Linked DNA regions of Homo sapiens: regions 1, 2, 4, 5, 6 and 7 are each linked to region 3. Evidence: promoter capture Hi-C in 16 types of primary human blood cells and fetal thymus (Javierre and others, 2016). All regions are on one chromosome and are shown on one strand. Each heading gives the region's core, a stretch centred on a gene start or on the middle of the fragment in contact. The rest is flanking DNA. Distances are from core to core; before and after follow the strand shown.

Evidence for each region. Contacts are between HindIII fragments. The CHiCAGO score rates a contact against its expected background, and 5 or more counts as called.
Region 1: a contact is called between a fragment that was not itself captured here and the fragment with the promoter of RBMS1 in region 3, in 2 of 17 cell types (M0 macrophages and M2 macrophages). The highest score is 6.4, in M0 macrophages.
Region 2: a fragment that was not itself captured here is called in contact with the fragment with the promoter of RBMS1 in region 3 in 6 of 17 cell types (M2 macrophages, endothelial precursors, M1 macrophages and 3 more); the score reaches 8.3 in M2 macrophages.
Region 4: a contact is called between a fragment that was not itself captured here and the fragment with the promoter of RBMS1 in region 3, in 4 of 17 cell types (M2 macrophages, naive CD4 T cells, M0 macrophages and 1 more). The highest score is 7.0, in M2 macrophages.
Region 5: a fragment that was not itself captured here is called in contact with the fragment with the promoter of RBMS1 in region 3 in 6 of 17 cell types (M2 macrophages, M1 macrophages, M0 macrophages and 3 more); the score reaches 9.9 in M2 macrophages.
Region 6: a fragment that was not itself captured here is called in contact with the fragment with the promoter of RBMS1 in region 3 in 1 of 17 cell types (M0 macrophages); the score reaches 5.8 in M0 macrophages.
Region 7: a fragment that was not itself captured here is called in contact with the fragment with the promoter of RBMS1 in region 3 in 6 of 17 cell types (M2 macrophages, M0 macrophages, endothelial precursors and 3 more); the score reaches 9.9 in M2 macrophages.

Annotation. Positions count from the first base shown.
Region 1 is chr2:160,818,746-160,821,445 of GRCh38, forward strand. No RefSeq gene overlaps it. Among named protein-coding and RNA genes, the nearest start is that of RBMS1, 330 kb to the left of the region's middle. The HindIII fragment of the contact is 2,025 bases long and covers 438-2,462 here.
Region 2 is chr2:160,996,783-160,999,482 of GRCh38, forward strand. No RefSeq gene overlaps it. Among named protein-coding and RNA genes, the nearest start is that of TANK-AS1, 160 kb to the right of the region's middle. The HindIII fragment of the contact is 3,574 bases long and covers 1-2,700 here.
Region 3 is chr2:160,492,522-160,495,221 of GRCh38, forward strand. It overlaps RBMS1 (RNA binding motif single stranded interacting protein 1), which reads right to left and starts at 1,286. Exons shown (of 14, transcript NM_016836.4): 1 at 768-1,286. The coding sequence starts at 842. RefSeq lists an enhancer at 827-1,347 and a silencer at 1,534-1,713. The HindIII fragment of the contact is 13,330 bases long and covers 1-2,700 here.
Region 4 is chr2:160,876,021-160,878,720 of GRCh38, forward strand. It overlaps the pseudogene RN7SL423P. Among named protein-coding and RNA genes, the nearest start is that of TANK-AS1, 280 kb to the right of the region's middle. The HindIII fragment of the contact is 3,214 bases long and covers 1-2,700 here.
Region 5 is chr2:160,943,496-160,946,195 of GRCh38, forward strand. No RefSeq gene overlaps it. Among named protein-coding and RNA genes, the nearest start is that of TANK-AS1, 220 kb to the right of the region's middle. The HindIII fragment of the contact is 667 bases long and covers 1,048-1,714 here.
Region 6 is chr2:160,857,342-160,860,041 of GRCh38, forward strand. No RefSeq gene overlaps it. Among named protein-coding and RNA genes, the nearest start is that of TANK-AS1, 300 kb to the right of the region's middle. The HindIII fragment of the contact is 1,648 bases long and covers 627-2,274 here.
Region 7 is chr2:160,978,810-160,981,509 of GRCh38, forward strand. No RefSeq gene overlaps it. Among named protein-coding and RNA genes, the nearest start is that of TANK-AS1, 180 kb to the right of the region's middle. The HindIII fragment of the contact is 1,804 bases long and covers 471-2,274 here.

The DNA of each region.
Region 1 (2,700 bases), core at 200-2,699, 330 kb after region 3:
TAGCATTCACATTCACTCTTACTGCCATATATTCTACAGGTATTGACAACTGTATTATGACATGCATTCACCATTATAATGTCATACAGCATAGTTTCATTGCCCCAAAAATCTTCTGTGCTGTCTATTCATCCCTCCCTTCCCCCAACCTCTAGCAACCACTGATGTCTTTACTTTCTCCATAGTTTTGCCTTTTCCAGAATGTCTTATAGTTGAGATCAGATAGTATGTAGTATTTTGGTATGTAGCATGTTCAGATTGATTACTTTCACTTGGTAAAATGCAGTTAAGGTTTCTTCATGTCTTTTCATGACTTGATAGCTCATTTCTTCTTAGCACTGAATAACAGTTCACTGTCTGGATCTACCACAGCTTATTTATCCATTCACCTACTGAGGACATCTTGGTTTTTTCCAGGTTTTGGTCATTATAAATCAAGCTTCTATAAACATTCATGTCCAGGTTTTTATCTGGATCTAAGTTTTCAACTCATTTGGGTAAATAACAAGAAGCATGATTGCTGTATTGTACGGTAAGAGAATGTTTTGTTTTCTAAGACATTACCAAACTGTCTTCCAAAGTAGCTGTGCCATTTTGCATTCCCACCAAGAACAAACAAGAGTTCCTGTTACTCCACACCTTCACAGCATTTGACATTGTCAGTGTTTTGGATTGTGGCCATTCTGATAGGTGTGTAGTGGTATCTTGCCCTTTTAATTTGCAGTTTCCTAATGGTATGTGATGTTCAACATCTTTTCATATGCTTTTCGCCACCTGTATATCTTCTTTAGTGAAGTGTCTGTTCAGGTCTTTTGTCCATTTTTAAAATTGATTTATTAGTTTTCTTGCTGTTGAGTTTTAATATTTATATTTTTGATAAGAACCCTTAACCAAATGTGTCTTTTGCAAATATCTTCTCCCATTCTGTGGTTTCTGTTCTCATTCTCTTGACAGTGTCTTTTCCAGAGTAGAAGTTTTTAGTTCTAGTGAAGTCTAGCTTATTATTTTTTTCATAGATCATGTCTTGGTGGTATATCTAAAACATCATTGCCATACTCAAGGTTACCTCAATTTTCTCCCATTTTATTTCAAGGAGTTTTATAGTGTTGCATTTTACATTTAGATTTATAATCACTTTGAGCTAATTTTTGTGAAGGGCATAAAATCTCATATGGATTCAATTGTTTGCATGTGGATGTCCAGTTGTTCCAGAACCATTTGTTGAAAAGACTATCTCTGTTCCATTCTATTGCCTTTGCTTCTTTGTCAAATATCAGTTCACTATACTTGTCTGGGTCCATTCTGGATTCTCTATTCAGTTCCACTCATCTTTTTGTTTATTCTTCTACCAATACCACACTGTCTTGATTACTGTAGCTATATAGTATGTCTTTAAGTTTGGTAGTGTCCAACTTTCTTATTTTCCTACAATATCATGTTGGTTATTCTGGGTCATTGCTTCTCTATTTAAACTTCAGATTTAGTTTGCCAATATCCTTAAAATAACTGCTGAGAATTTAAGTGGGACTGCATTGAATCTATAGGTCAAGTTGAGAAGAATTGATGTCTTGACAATATTGAGTCTTCCTGTCTCTGAACACAGACTATCTCTTCATTTATTTCGTTTTTTTTTTTTTTGACATCTTTCATCGGGTTTTTTTTTTTTAGGTTTCCTCATATAGATTTTGTACATATTTTGCTAGATATATACCTAAGTATTTCATTTTGCGGGCTCCTCATATAATTGTTATTGTGTTTTTACTTCAAATTCTACTTGTTCCTTGTTAATATAGAGAAAAATGATTGACTTTTTAATATAACCTTGTTTCCTGCAAACTTGCTAAAATGATTTAATAGTTCCAGAAGTTCTTTTGTCAACTCTCTTATATTTTCTCCATAAACAATTATGCAATCTGAGAACAAAGAAAGTTTTATTTATTCCTTCCCAAACCGTGCACCTTTTATTTCCTTTCTCGTCTTACTGCATGTCTTAGTCCATTTTTTGCGGCTATAACAGGATATCTGAGACTGGGTAATTATTTTTTAAAATAGGTTCATTTGGCTCATGATTCTGGTGGCTAGAAAGTTCACGATGGGGCAAACCATCTGGTGAGGATCTTGTGATGCTTCAACTCTTGGTGAAAAGCAGAAGTGAAGGCGGGCACTTGCAAAGAGACATGCAAGAAGGCTTTCTCAGGAATGAATCCATTCCTGCTAGAGTGAGAACTCACTCACTTCCACGAGGCAGCATTAATCTATTTATGAGGACAGTATCTCTGTGATCTGAACACCTCCCACTAGGCCTAGCTTCTAACACTGCCGTACTGGGAATCAAATTTCAACACAAGTTTTGGCAGATGGCATTCAAACCTTAATATTGCATTAGCTAGGACTTCCAGTATGATGCTAAAAAGAAGTGCTTAGAGGGAGTATCCTTGCGTTGTTCCTAATTTTAGTGAGAAAGCTTATATTTTCTCATTGTTAAGTATGATATTAGCAGTAGATTTTATGCAGATTTTTTTAAATCCAGTTCAGTATGCTCCCTCTATTCCTAGTTTGTTGAGTGTTTTTACATGAGTGGGTGGTGGATTTTGTCAAATGCTTTCTCTGCATCTGTTGACATGATCAAGTAATTTTTATTCTTTAGCTTGTTGATGTGATGGATTAGATTAATCTATTTTCTGGTGTTGAACCAACTTT
Region 2 (2,700 bases), core at 49-2,548, 500 kb after region 3:
CCTTATCAGCATTCTAAACACTTTGGTTTTCAATGTCTTTATTTTTAATAGAAGTTCAATATTTGTCCTCATGCAGATCTATTAGATAATTCATATGAAGCATTTTGCATAGCACCTTGCATGGGAAGGCTTAGAAATAGTCATTGATACTATTGTTATAGGATTATCCATTTTAGAGAAAACTTATTTTAAATGTTAAACAAGAATACCATTAGTGATTTGTTTACAGGTTACTTCTACATTGTACAGAGGTGAAATAGTTTTCATGACAGAGTTAAACAGTCTCTCCATAAAAAGTTAATATTTAGAAACTTGAAAAAAGCCAGGGGCAGTGGCTCATGCTTGTAATTCCAGCACTTTGGGAGGCTGAGACAGGCAGATGACTTGAAGCCAGGGGTTCAAGACCAGCCTGGCCAACATGGTGAAACCCTGTCTCTACTAAAAACACAAAAATTAGCCAGGCGTGGTGGCATGCATCTGTAATGCCAGCTACTCAGGTGGCTGAGGCATATACAATCTTTTGAACCTGGGAGGTGGAGGTTGCAGTGAGCAGAGACTGTGCCACTGCACTCCAGCCTGGGTGACAGAGTGAGACTCCATCTCAAAAAAAAAAAAAGGAAGAAAAAAGAAAAGAAAACTTGAAAACAGTGGCAAATTTGTCTATTTCTGTTTTTTAAAAAATATTTAAATTATTTAATTATTTGTCTTTTTTAATATTTTTATTATTATTATACTTTAAGTTTTAGGGTACATGTGCACAATGTGCAGGTTAGTTACATATGTATACATGTGCCATGCTGGTGTGCTGCATCCATTAACTTGTCATTTAGCATTAGGTATATCTCCTAATGCTATCCCTCCCCCCTCCCCCCACCCCAAAACAGTCCCCAGAGTGTGATGTTCCCCTTCCTGTGTCCATGTGTTCTCATTGTTCAATTCCCATCTATGAGTGAGAACATGCGGTGTTTGGTTTTTCGCCCTTGCAATAGTTTACTGAGAATGATGATTTCCAATTTCATCCATGTCCCTACAAAGGACATGAACTCATCATTTTTTATGGCTGCATAGTATTCCATGGTGTATATGTGCCACATTTTCTTAATCAAATCTATCATTGTTGGACATTTGAGTTGGTTCCAAGTCTTTGCTATTGTGAATAGTGCCGCAATAAACATATGTGTGCATGTGTCTTTATAGCAGCATGATTTATGGTCCTTTGGGTATATACCCAGTAATGGGATGGCTGGGTCAAATGGTATTTCTAGTTCTAGATCCCTGAGAAATCGCCACACTGATTTCCACAATGGTTGAACTAGTTTACAGTCCCACCAACAGTGTAAAAGTGTTCCTATTTCTCCACATCCTCTCCAGCACCTGTTGTTTTCTGACTTTTTAATGATTGCCATTCTAACTGGTGTGAGATGGTATATCATTGTGGTTTTGATTTGCATTTCTCTGATGGCCAGTGATGATGACCATCTTTTCATGTGTCTTTTGGCTGCATAAATGTCTTCTTTTGAGAAGTGTCTGTTCATATCCTTTGCCCACTTTTTGATGGGGTTTTTTGTTTTTTTCTTGTAAATTTGTTTGAGTTCATTGTAGATTCTGGATATTAGCCCTTTGTCAGATGAGCAGGTTGCGAAAATTTTCTCCCATTTTGTAGGTGTCTGTTCACTCTGATGGTAGTTTCTTTTGCTGCGCAGAAGCTCTTTAGTTTAATTAGATCCCATTTGTCAATTTTGGCTTTTGTTGCCATTGCTTTTGGTGTTTTAGACATGAAGTCCTTGCCCATGCCTAGGTCCTGAATGGTATTGCCTAGGTTTTCTTCTATGGTTTTTATGGTTTTAGGTCTAACATTTAAGTCTTTAATCCATCTTGAATTAATTTTTGTATAAGGTGTAAGGAAGGGATCCAGTTTCAGCTTTCTACATATGGCTAGCCAGTTTTCCCAGCACCATTTATTAAATAGGGAATCCTTTCCCCATTGCTTGTTTTTCTCAGGTTTGTCAAAGATCAGATAGTTGTAGATATGCAGCGTTATTTCTGAGGGCTCTGTTCTGTTCCATTGATCTATATCTCTGTTTTGGTACCAGTACCATGCTCTTTTGGTTACTATAGCCTTGTAGTATAGTTTGAAGTCAGGTAGGGTGATGCCTCCAGCTTTGTTCTTTTGGCTTAGGATTGACTTGGCGATGCGGGCTCCTTTTTGGTTCCATATGAACTTTAAAGTAGTTTTTTCCAATTCTGTGAAGAAAGTCATTGGTAGCTTGATGGGGATGGCATTGAATCTATAAATTACCTTGGGCCGTATGGCCATTTTCATGATATTGATTCTTCCTACCCATGAGCATGGAATGTTCTTCCATTTGTTTGTATCCTCTTTTATTTCATTGAGCAGCGGTTTGTAGTTCTCCTTGAAGAGGTCCTTCATATCCCTTGTAAGTTGGATTCCTAGGTATTTTATTCTCTTTGAAGCAACTGTGAATGGGAGTTCACTCATGATTTGGCTCTCTGTTTGTCTGTTATTGGTGTATAAGAATGCTTGTGATTTTTGCACATTGATTTTGTATCCTGAGACTTTGCTGAAGTTGCTTATCAGCTTAAGGAGATTTTGGGCTGAGACAATGGGGTTTTCTAGATATACAATCATGTCGTCTGCAAACAGGGACAATTTGACTTTCTCTTTTCCTAATTGAATAC
Region 3 (2,700 bases), core at 36-2,535:
TGTTTTTGTTTCTTTTTTAACCAAATACGAAGTCACTTCTTTCTCTGCACTGAAATCTGCCCATTGTCCCTCCTTTGCAAAACCTCTAGAGATTAGAAGGGACATCAATGAACGCGAGTGAACTTTGGCCACTTTTCTACCCAAAACACCAGCGTAAAAGTAGAAATCAGTAACCAGGTGAAGTGCCACACCGCACAAAGATCAGAGGCGAGGGGCGGGCGCTCAGGGCCGGAGGCGGGGAGGAAAATATCCCGGCCCCGCCGCCCCTCCAGCCCCAGTCATCGCGTGCGCGGGAGGTGGAGGGGCGTCCCTGGGGGGCGGGAGGCTCCGCGCCACGGCGAGGGGAGCGAAGAGTTACAGCTTACAGGGCGAGGCCCTTGGAGAAGGGGTCGAAAAGCCGGGCCACCAGCGGATCCAGACGCGCACACCAGGCGACGGCCGCCGGCCAGCCAGGGCTCGGCGAGGGGCGCCGCTCGACCCCACGACCCTCCCCGCTGGCCGGGCCAGGAAGGGGCTGGTGGCTCTTTCCTGTCTAGTCTCTCCCCCCGCGGCTTTCTGTAACCCGATCCCCGCACTCCGCTCCCAGGGAAGCCGCCGCCCCGCGCGCCGCCCGGCTCTGCCCAGGCCAGCGCTATAGTTAGCAACCTTCCAGCAACTCCGCCCGGCGGTGGCGGGGGTTCGCCGCGCGCCCCCCTCCCCAGGCCTGACCCTGCGCGCGTCCCCGGGCCCCCTCCTCCGGCCGTCACCTCTCCCCGGCGCCCCTTTACCTTGGCTTGCAGATACTGGGGGTAATAGTAGGTGGCGTACTGAGGGTACATCTGCTGTTTCCACACTTTGCCCATGAAGCTGGAAGGGAGCCTGCCGTGCAGGGTCGCGGACACTTTGGGGTTTCCAAGTCTCGGGCTCTCCTGCCTCTCCCTTTCCGGCGGCGGCGGCAGCGGCGGCGGCGGCGGCGGCTGCTGCTGCTGCCGCTGCTCCACCTCCCAGCCGGGACCAGACGTCCTCCTCCTCCTCCTCCTCTTCCTCCTCCTCCTCCTCCTCCTCCTCCTCTTCCTCCTCCTCCTCCTCCTCCCAGGCAGAAAGAAAGACACTGCAGAGCGCAGAGGGCACCCCGGACAGGGCGCTCCCAAGGAGTTTCCTCCCGGAGCCCGACTGCTCCGGGGCTGCCAAGGGCTGGCGCGCTGGCCGCGGTCCGCTCGGGCGAGCCGGCTGCGCGGGGCTGAGAGGTGATCAATACAAGTGGAAAGTGCGGCAGCGGCGGCTGCGCTTGGTGCCAGGCGGCATCTGGGGTGGGTGCGCCCGATGTGGAGAGAGGAGAGGGGCTGGCGTTCCGAGGCCGTGGGGGAAGGGCGGGCGGGGGCGGGGCCTGGGCGCCGCCGAGCCCGGGACCCGCTGGAGGTGAGGGCTGAGTTTTAACCACTCCTCACCTCCCAGGCTCGCGGTTGGACGGGCGGAAGCCCTGTGAGTCCAGATCGCTTTGTGTCGGGGGTGGGGAAATGGGAGTGGGAGTGGGGGTGGAGGGGGAATGCGGGGGGACCCAGCTTAAGAACTGCAGGGCGGGCACCTCTTTTGCTTTCCCGAGTTTTTATCTTCGTAAGGGGGAGGGGAAATAAGGGAAAAGAGGAAATCTGATTAATCGTTCACTTCCCACCGCCCAGTAATTTTTTTTCACAAGGGAAGGAAAATGATTTAATGCCCAACAAAGCTGGAGTCTGGACACCTGGGTTCTGTTCCTCCCACCCACCCCCGACCCGGGGCCACAAGACTAATCTAGGTGACCTTGGGAGGGTTAGCGTCCTTCGGTTTGGTTTTCCCAGATGTGAGACGTGAAATCATGCCCCTTGCACAAGGGGAGGCAAAGCACATACATACATACACACACACACACACACACACACACACCCCTCACAACATATAGACGGATCCTTCTAAGAGGGGGATGCCGCAAAGAGGCAGAATGTTATTAGAGGACACAATATAGACATCAGCTTTTCTCTGCCTCTTTCTAATGCTGCCAGACAGTCTGTCAACTCCCACTCAGGAGCAAGGAAACTCCCTGAGTTTGGAATATTTTAAGGCCATTTTGAAAGTCACGCTGGCATATTGTTGCAGTGTGCTTCAGTGACATATAAAATCAATCTCTCTTTCTGCCTCTCTCCATCTCCTAATTGTCACAGCTCTAGACAGCCTCAGACCAGCAGTGGTTCAGTTCACTACATAACTAGATATAATTTAATGGAATTAATTGGTCCCCGAAGCTGCCTGCAGAAGACTTTTATATTCCAGCTCAAAAAGAGAGCTAATACCAAAATGTACATACGGATAGCATAGGTAAGCAAGCATCCTCAAATTAGGGTTCCGGCACATCTAATAAAATGTAATAAAAAACTGTGTTTGTTATTAAATAGACCTTGTTTACTTTGTCATTTTGGTTTTTGAAGAGTCTTTTGTTAATAGCACAAGGTAAATTAAACTCAACTGGAATGCATTATTTTGTTAAACAGTTATTATTTTTATATGATAACATTTTAAAATAGGTTTAGTAAGATACTTTAAAACAATGACAAAATAAGGACCTGAAACCCTTATAATCGTTCTATGGTTTAGACAAATTTCTAGATCTTACATGTTTGACAAAAACAAAATAAATATAAGTATAGGTGAGAACATTTTGGCTCTGCCAGGAGGCAAATCATGTCC
Region 4 (2,700 bases), core at 188-2,687, 380 kb after region 3:
CCCATTTTCACCATTTGTTGACTGACTTCCACCTCTGGTTTCTCCAGGTTTTGAGCTTCCCACCAGTTCTGCTGTGCGAATTTGTTCTTTTCATCCAGACTTATTTTCTATAAGCACCATAAATCATGGCTTCATCCCCATGCTCAGTCAGTTATCAGGCCTCCATCTGCTCTCTGACTACTTTCTCACATATGCCCTAGGGGCCTTGGCAGGTCACAGGCTTGTGTAATAGGACCTGTGATCCTAGGCTCACCAAGCAGAATTGTTGATACCTTAGTCCTTGGAGTCAGCCTTTTTGTTCTATTATATATCATGGATTAGCTTAGTGTATGTTAGCTAGAGGAATAAAATAGTAATATGTATGTAGCCTCGCAAAGATTAAACCCATTCCCATTGCAAAGCAAATTAAAAACAAAAACCCATATTCACTAATGTTACATATTCCTTTCTCTTTGTTCTGATGGGTTTTATGCGTTTCTTATTTCTTCTTATTTTGGAAAGGTGCTGGAAAGAAGAAATTGTCTTCATTGGAATCATCTCTTCTATGAGTTCAAATAATGTTTTTTTAAGTCTCCAAAGCCATGTTTTCTCGTTTGCTCGGATCAAGAGAGAATTAATGCTAAATGCTTGTAAGAGTCAGTCTTACCCAGTAGAAACTTCTGCTTAAAAGTCCAAGTCCCCATGGGAAATTTGTTGGCTCTCAACTCTGGAGAGGCTTTCATTCAGTGTTCAGACATGTTCTCCTATGGCCAGATCTATGTTACTCTGCAGCCCACGTTCTGTCATGGTTTATTCTCCTACTACATACGCTTTTCTACAAATTGCCTATGGCACACACGGCTGGTCCTGACCACAAAATGGAACCTAAGAGAACTTTGTCTCTCAGAACTGGGTTCCCAAGCCTTAAGGAAAACCAGGAGCTAAGTTTCTGCTAAGCAATTAGTCATGAGTTAGATATCCAGCTTTTGGTAAGCACAATACTGAGAAGAAAGGGGGAGGTCATTTAGAAATTCAGAACCTGTACTGAATTGTCTCTCCCCTCCAAGATTCTTGGCTTTATCACTGAAAACTGAAAAGAAGCAGTGTTTGTTTATTCTTTGTGTTTACTGAACACTGTTGAGACTCTTGTCACATTTCTTAGCCACTATAAAAAGTATCAACCTCTCAATGTGCTTCTAAAAATCTGAGGATCCAATCAATTATTTGCCTACCTGGAATTTGTTTTCATGTTATTACTAGTCTGCAGGGTAAACCAAATAGCACAAAGTTTCATCTCTTCTGCCCAAGTATCGTCACTTTGAATCAACTGCCTTTGTAAACTGTATAGTGTTTGCCCTGGTGTATACATTTGATTTTTCAGAAACTGAAAAAACTAATAATAAAAATTTTGACTCCATGAATTCCTTCTTATTCAGAAACGGTGTAAAATTTGTTTTGGTATGAATTTGGGCATGGTCTTATCATCTCTGATGATTTACAGTAACACCATTTTCTGTAGAATTGTTATTTAAATAAAGGTTACTTGTGCTGGGCATAGTAAATAGCCCACAACCATAGTCCCAGCTACTTGGGCAGCTGAGGCAGGAGAATCACTTGAGCCCAGGAGTTCTAGGCTGTAGTACGCTATGCCAATCGGGAGTCTACACTAAGTTCAGCATCAATACTGTGATCTCTCAAGAGCAGGGGACCACTATGTTGCCTAAGAAGGGGTCAACTGGCCCAAGTTGGAAATGGAGCAGGTCAAAGCCTGCATGCTGATGAGTAGTGGGATTGTACCTGTAAAAAAAACACTGTACTCTAGCATGGGCAACATAGCAAGACCCTGTCTCTTAGCAAGAAACAATTACTTTTATCACTTTTATTTAAGTCCATAATTATAAAACTGTCTTGATTCATTCATTCAACAAACATTTTTTAAAGCCTCGTATGTGCCAGACATTGAGTTGTAATCTCCATAAGCTCAGTGACTTCGTTTGTTTCATACACTATTGGATTTCTAGCACCATGAACAGTACCAAGACCAAAGAAAGCCCTCAAGACTTAACTGTTGCTGTTGAATGGGTAACTGAATAGGTCATAACTAATTAGGGGGCTTAAATAAGTATAGTAACATATAAGAGAACATGAACAGAGGTATGCTTAGTGCATTCATTTCTTATTGCTGCTATAACAAATCACCACAAATTTGTTGCTCAAAACAACACAAACTTATTATCTTATAGTTCTGGAGGGCAGAAGTCCTAAAATCAAAGTGTTGGCAGGGCTATGGTCCTTCTAGAGGGTCTAGGGGAACATCCTTTCCTTGCCTTTTTCAGCTTCTACAGGCCACTGCCCTGCCCTGCTTGTGGTCCTTCCTCCATCTTCAAGCTCAGCACTCATTCACACTTGTGTGTACTCTCTCTTTCCCCCACCTCCTCTGCTTCTTCGGTCCCATCTCCTTCTGACCCTCCTGCTTCCCTCTTATAAAGACTCCATGTGTTTATATTGGGTATGCCAGATAATTCAAGATAAGACCCTTTCACCATATGAGATAATACATTCACAATTTCTGGAGATTAGCATGTGGACATCTTTTGGGGGGCATCATTCTGTCTAGCACACAAAGAGTGTAATGGACTGCAGAAGAAAGGGGCTTCATCTTAATCTGGAAAGACAAGAAAAGGTTTAGAGAGAAGGCTTTTGTTGAGCCAAGTCTGGAAG
Region 5 (2,700 bases), core at 131-2,630, 450 kb after region 3:
GAGCTATTCAGTACCAGACCATATCTTAATTAGTCACACTGTGGAAGGATGAAGATGGAGTTAATGGAATTGGTCACTGGGTTCTCCTGTTTCTAGCAATATATTGCATTATCCTGTGCCTGCATTTCCATACTTGTCCACATTGATTTTATCAGTGTGAGGTCACCCTTCTCTACAAAGCAATGTCTTCTTTAAGCGTAATGCATCTAGGGCATAAGACGGTGTACAAGAAAGGGCCACTTCCTTATCTGACAAATGGGGGGTGAGAATGCCCACTATTTAGATCCCTACAAATGTTCAATGATAACGGGCATGCAAATAATTTAACAAAAATTCTAGTATGCAGTATACATAAGAAATCCTGAGGCATATCTGTACACTAAAATGAATACAGATTTGGAAGCCAAATAGACCTCATTCTATTTTTATCTTTGTCACTTGATGGTCGTATGACCTTATCAACACTTACATGCAATTATTTATTATATAATACTTCACAATTTGCTGGACTGAAAATTTCTCAAAGGGAGGTATTATGTCTTACATATATTTATGCACAGTGCTTCGACTTACGTTGTTTAACCTTCCTGAGCCTTAGTGTTCCCGTCTGTGAATTGAAGTGGGTGTTACATACCTCTGTGTCACAGACATTTTATGCCCTGGCTCACATCTTCTTAGCCCACCTTTTTTCTCTAGCTATTGCTATAACTACCAGATGTGCACAGGAATAGCCTGATGATAGCTCACCTCGGCTGCACCCTGAGAACTCTGCCATCACCCAAGAGACATCTGCAGGAGGCTGGCTGCAGGAAGAGAGCCCTCTTCTAACATTTAATCAGTGGTCCACACTGGGGAGATACAGTTATCACCACTGAGAGAGGGAGGTACTATTGGCACCTAATAGGTAGAGGTCATTGTAGGATGCTGTTAATGTCCTATAAGTACAGCATAGCCCCTCACAACAAAGAATTATCTAGTCCAAATGTCAATGGTCCCATTGTTGAGAAACCTTGACCTAGAAACTGCAAAAACCTCATCGGAGGAAGAAGCTTCATAAGATACTCTCCTCCCTGTCATGTTCTGCTCCCATCTACCCTCACTGTCTCCACACTGGACCCAACAGAAAGTTATTTATCTAATCTGTAAGCATACATACTAAACAATTAGCAGATTCCCTCCATTGTTTCCTATCCTATAGAATGAGAGCTATAATGATAGGAATGTTTAGGCCACAGCACCATTGTGAAGTGTATATGATCCTGGCTTTGGAAGAAAGTAGTACAACCAGAGAATTTTAAGACCTGGTTAATGCACCCAGGAGAAGCCAGGGGAACAGGTGTAGGAGTAGATCTTAGAGTACCCAACACAAGGTTAGCACATAAGGCTGGAGAAGGGAGAATGTATTGATGTTAGAACACTCTCCCGTGACATGGGGTTCAACATCTTAGCAAAGACACATAGAACTGGTCCTAATACACTGCTAAAATTGTTCCTTATAGCTTTGTCCTTATCAAAGTAATTAGGTAAGTCAGGCCTTGGCAGGGTTTTGGGGAAGGGCTTGAAGGGCTCAGGGAGGTGGAAATGTTGGAATGGGTTTACTGTGTTACATCAAAGTACCCACCACCTGACTCTGTTGCCTGAGGGAGTCCAAAGAACACTCCTACAATCAGTCAATGAAGAATGCAGAGTGAGGGGAGCACCACCATTGTGGAGAAGCTTGGTTGTGTTGTTGACAGTGGGAAGTGCTATGTTAGAACCAGTCTCCCTGGTATCAATGGAATTGATAGGATTCTCAAATAGGAGAGGCTAATTTGTCTTCACAGAAATAGGGTGGTCATAATTTCTGAAATAAACAGTGAGGCCAGAGTGATGACCTGAGAGCTTTGACCCATAGGAATCGGTAGCAGTTGTTAATAAATCATGGGAGCAAGACAGATGGGCAGCCAACTAGAGTTTCACTTCATCTATAGAGCCAGCAGGAGAGATCTGGAAAGCAAAAAACTGGTGTCTGTCGCCCCAATGGGAAATCACACTCTCTCACCCATTTACTAGATCTAAGTCAGTTCCCAGACACAGAGCTCAGTCTCTGATCCAGAGCTCAGTGACTATCAAAGAGACTAGGTCCATTTGGCAATATCCTGCAACACCACTGCAAAAATTTAAAATAAATATCTCCTGATCCTTTCCCAAAGGAACTTGAAGCTATTTACCAGAATATCAGATATACACTGGGGAAACAAAAATACCCAGACCATGCAAGGACTTTTAGACTCAGAGTCTGAGTTGGCTCTAAAAGCAAGGAATTGAAAATGCTATTGTGACCCTTCATTAGAAAGAGGCATGTAGAAGCCAGGTGATGAATAGAATCCTGGCCCATGTCCATCTCATAGTCGTCCAATGGGGCCGCAGGCCACCTGTGTGGTTATTTGCCCAGTCCCTCAGTACAATCAAGATTGGTTCCTTGGCCACTGAAATAAGAGCCACTGTGGGTTTGGAAGAGACATGGGAAGTTCCCCAAACTGCAATCCTACATCTCAAGAGAAATTGCAGAAATTAGCACCACCACCAAAGACTTGAAGGATGAAGGGATAGCCTCATTCAATTCACCTATTTGGCCCTTGCAAAAACTAGAAGGATCATCATGAATGATAGTGGACCAAAGTTAACATAACCAAATGGCATCCACAATCACATATACCA
Region 6 (2,700 bases), core at 201-2,700, 360 kb after region 3:
ACTGGTCAGCTATTTTGTAGACATTTCTCAAATGGGAACTGTCCAGTGTTTTTCTCATGATTAAACTGGGGTTATGAGTTTTGGGGAGCAAGAGCACAGAGGGATAATGCCATTCTCATCATGTCATATGAAGGATACATACTATCAGCTTGACTTACCTAGTTACTTTTCCCAAGGTGTATTTCAATATGGTTTCATGTACCCTCCCCCTGTGAAAATTACAAGGGGATTTATCTCTAATTTTCACAGTGAGAACCCTGCTAGGGTTTCTGGAGGTAAAATCCACAAATTCATAGGCCCCCAAAGGCGGAGCCCCCAGGAGTTTCTAAGTCTTTGCTGGTCCACACTAAGCCTCCAGCAATCCAACAAAGTCCTCATTAAATATTCTTACCAGTTTATGGCTCCAGGAGCATCTGCTCCCAGTAAACAGATGACAGCTATATCTCTCTGGATGCCCCTGTTTCTTCACATTTTGGGGTGACTGTTTGACCTGCAACTTAAGTTCTCTGATAGGTTCAAGAAAGACAATTAATTTTTAATTCATCTAGCTTTTTCTTGTAAGACTGAGAGTCATGTCTTCCAAGCTCGTTACATGTCAAAGCTGAAAAATTCACTGTTTTAATGCAAGCTTATGCAGCATCACTCATAAGGAAGTAAAATCAGTGGCCTAAAAACCTTGCTTTAATAGGCAGGTGATCTTTGAATTGAGTTATCTGCTACGCTGGTTTCACTGTATGAAATTTAGAGTGCCTTGGAAACCAGCTTTCAACAAAAATGTATTTCTCTCTTGGCTAATTTGGCTTTATTCCATTCAGAGGTACCATCGTAAAAGGATAAAAGCATTGGAACTTGCATCCAAAGATACAGACTTTTGGTATCTACAGCAAAAAATCTTACTGGACCATCTCTCTCTCTCTCTCGCTCTCTCTCTGAGACTCAGTTTCCTCTTTTGTCAAATTTATTGGCCACAGGGATGTCCTCTAATTTATGTGTCTAGCACAAAACCTGGTACAGTATAGGCTTCATTGAAAACTGAACTGAAATGCCTGCACAATCCATCTCATGGTGTTATTATGACAATTAAACAAAATAATGTACATGTAAGCTCTTTGCAAACTTCAAAGAGCCTTATAAACACTGCTCCTTTATTTATCAGTCATCAATCATGAATGCATGTCTGCATGCAAACATTTCTATGGAGGATTTTCATTTGTTTGTTTGCTTGCTTGTTCATGTTGGGTTTTTTTTGTTTTGTTTTGGTTTGGTTTTTATTTTGACGTTGTGCAGGTAAGAAGGAAGGCAGTATTAAAGAGTTAATTTTTATTCAAATTATAGATTGATTTCAGTTATAGCAACACTATACATTCCTCAGCTTGTCCAATTAAAAATCCTGGCAAGTGTTTTGATATTTGACAGCTCTGCTGTCAAGCAATTCTGTTCTACAATTAATCATGGCACAGCCATTTCTTCAACTACTGCCACAATATAAAGGCATCATTGTACACGCAGACATAGTACACTTGTATACTGTTTAAAAGGAGGCAGAACTAATGAACATTAAAAATTTACTACTCTGTAGATTGCAGTTGCATGGCCAAGATTTATTATTAAACCCATTCTATTTTAATACTATCACTGCTCCTATCTGAGCTTAGATACAAGTGTTCAGATATTGCAGTTTTCCATTTCCTAGTTTGAGAAATTAAGATTCTGCTTTCTTTGAGTTCTTTTGAGGGTTGGCCAGATAGGTGCACTGTACAACGACTGGGATCCTTTAATGATTGAGTGTCAGCTCCTGGGTTTTGGTTGTTGTTTTGTCTGGATCAGTGTTTGTTAGACACAACTATAGCACCTACCTCCTTTCCTCCCCCACTGTCAGTGACTTCCTGAGGCAAACAAGTTTGCCACAAATCAAAATGCTTGCAACATACATCTCTATGAACCTGTTCCATCTCTCCTTGGCAACTTGCCACTTTGCTTCACTCTTAGCACTGAACACCCTGCATTTACCAAATGGCTTGGTATCTTTAGTAAATTAACCATTTCATGGGAATTCTACCCTTCCACCAGAATCATGTGTTTCTCATAGAGAGGCATGTTACATTTAAAGCAGTCTCAGGCAGCTTTGAACAAATACATTACCACTGTTTTTCGTTACTATCAGTTCCTGTTTACCTGTCTCATTTGTCAAGCAATCCCATCACAAATTACATAAATGGTCATCTAGAAACTACAGATACATTGGTTAAAAAATTTGTGTAAAAAATAGATATAAGCTTTTACCTTTAGAGGTAATTACAACTACTTACTCTGGTGACAGTTTGTGATTTTTCTGATTTTCATCTTTACAGACTTCCATGTTGAACTCCATTACTAATACTTTATGCAACTTCATAATCACCCCTGCTACAACAATACTGTGAGTTGCTATTAAATTGCCCTCCCAAAAAATGTGATACAAACACAATCTCAAAACTTCATTTTAATTTTTTTAAAAATCAACTGAAAAGTGTGCTTTTTATATATGTTGATAAATACCATAATAAAGTTCTGCTGTCACTTAGGGAAGCAAGTGAATGTAATTGGTGAATAAATTAAGTTCAGACTATATTAACTATGTGTGTAAGGAAGGAGTGGGTGCCTGAGCCTAAGATTGATATGAAGTAAATGGAAATTTTCAAGCTCTGAATTTTTTTTCCC
Region 7 (2,700 bases), core at 123-2,622, 490 kb after region 3:
AGGCCTGAATAGGATCAATTGGCCCTTACTATCCATCCCCATTTCTTCTCATGTGTGTTTCCATCTCCAGGGGCTGCAAAGCTAAAAATCACATTCCTTGGTCTCTTCCAGGTCAGGTTCTGGATGCAAACTAAGTTCCATAATTAAAGTACTTGCATGTGATTTTAAAGATGGAAACAAAGCAATAATGATCTTGGTGCCTTTTGTTTTTTCAGTTGCTATTGGGAAACAATGGCATGGAAATGCCAAATCCTTTTTCTTTGTCTTGTCACTTCTTCACAAATTTATTTCTCTTTGTTAAAATGGTATATAAGCTGTCAGGCCTAACTGCTTCTTGGGATTTTTACTTTCTTTTCTGTAAGACTTCTGTGTACACACAAAAATAAAACATTAACATTAAATAAAACACGTATGCCTTTTTTCTATTAATCTGTCTTTTGCCAGTTTAATTTGCAGTGCCATAGTCACTAAGCTTAAGAGAGTAAAGAATAATTGCTTTTCTCCTTTACAATCCCTAGAGTGCTATTTGATCCCTCTCTGGTAGCCTATATTTATTTTAGAGTTCTAGCATCTTCTTTCTTAGTTCTTGCTAAGTTTGTGTGTATGTGTGTGTCCAAGTATATTTATTTACTTGATGCCAAATTTGCTTTAACGGTGAAAATATAATCAACTCAGTCTTGCAGGAGCATCTTTTAAAACCCATTCCAACTCTATCTTTTTAAAAAATTTCCAGTCAAACCAAACGTTCTTCCAGGTTTGTTCAGTACTCAGTGTGATTATCTCCTGACTACTCTTTTGGCATGCATGACTCCAAGATTTTCTTTGGAAACTATGTATACTATTCCCGTATTCTTTTGTCACTGGTTTCATCTGCTATTTTGAGGTTAGGCTTTTCCCCCTTCAAATAGCTGAATGTATGTATGTATGTACGTATATATACAGATATAAATATAATATATGAACCTGAAATACATTATTATATGTTTTTAACATTTTATTTTGAAATACTTATAGATTCACAGGAAGTTAAAAAAATAGTACTGACAGGTCCAATGCACTCTGTATTTTAATGAATATTTAGTTACGAATTCTAATTTTTCTTTTTCTTTTCTTTTCTTTTTTTCTTTTTTTTTTTTTTTTGAGATAGTTTTGCTCTTGTTGCCCAGGCTGGAGTGCAATGGCGTGATGTCGGCTCACCGCAACCTCCGCCTCCCAGATTCAAGAGATTCTCCTGCCTCAGCCTCCTGAGTAGTTGGGATTACAGGCATGCGCCACCATGCCTGGCTTATTTTGTATTTTTAGTAGAGACAGGGTTTCTCCATGTGGGTCAGGCTGGTCTCAAACTCCTGACCTTAGGTGATCCACCTGTCTCAGCCTCCCAAAGTGCTGGGATTACAGGCGTGAGCCACTGCACCCGGCCCCTCTAATTTTTCTAACACATGTCACTCCACACTATTTATTTCCTTGAAGACCTAAAGTAGAAAGTGACATTGCCAAAAAAATGGCAGATAGGGAATTTTAGGGCTCCATCCCTTTATAAAAGCAACTAACAGACAGTAGTATTTGCTCGACAATATGAATGCAATTAAACAACTGAATTTTATACTTTAAAATGATTAAAATGGAAAATCTAATTTTATATATATACATGTATAAAAACACAATACATTTTTAAAAATTTTTAATTTAAAAAATGAAACCAATAAGCTAATAAAAACTGTCAGAATCAACCTTCGCAGAACTCCGGAATTTAATTAAAAGTTTACAACCACCAGGGCAAACTTGATGAAAGAAGTTGCTGCACCGTGGTAAGAGAGTACTATGGCATTTTGGATTGTTCATCTACCATCCCCTCCTCCCCAGTCAGCAGCAGCCATGAAGATGGTAGCACATACTCCAGGTACAGGTTGCTACTGCAAAAGGGGGCAATTTGGATATTATTGTCAAATAATTGTGGTTGTCTGTTTCGACCTCTTTGATGACTCTCTGAAGGTACAAGGTTTGCCTTTGTTTTGCTTGATGCAGAGCATCCCCAGGGCTGAGGAGGCTTCTTGGGCAATGTTTCCAAAAACAAAGCTATTCACCACAGGAGCCTGGAGCAAGGAGTCAGGACAAGCAACAGACAGACTAAAAAACTTGGAAGAAATGCATAGGGAAAAGAGATACGGGAGAAGATAAAGACTTTTTAACATTTCCTATATATAGGGGAATTGAAAAGACTACACACATACCTAGAGCTGGCTGAAGGTTCAGAAAAGTCTTGAGAAGACCCTAAGCTTTCACCTCTCACTGACCTTCAGATTCTGAACAAGCAGGAACTGAAGGCTAAGACAGAGTTGAAAAAATGGCCTGAGCTGGTATGACAATGTATGCATATGGTCCCAGCTACTTGAGAGGCTGAGGTGGGAGAATTGCTTGAACCTAGGAGTTTCAGTCTGGTATGGGCAACATAGTGAAACTCTATCTATACACACACACACACACACACACACACACACACACACACACACACACACACACAGTGGTCTAGCTAAGCACTGATACCATGCTCTCACAGACAGCCAATCTGCAAAGATTGGGAAAGTATTTTATATTCTTTTGTTGGCTCCAGGCATTTAGGAAAACTCTGTCAAAACACTAGATGGCCACTAAGTTAATAGAACACAGATTTCAGTAGCCAAACATGACAAAGAATACAGA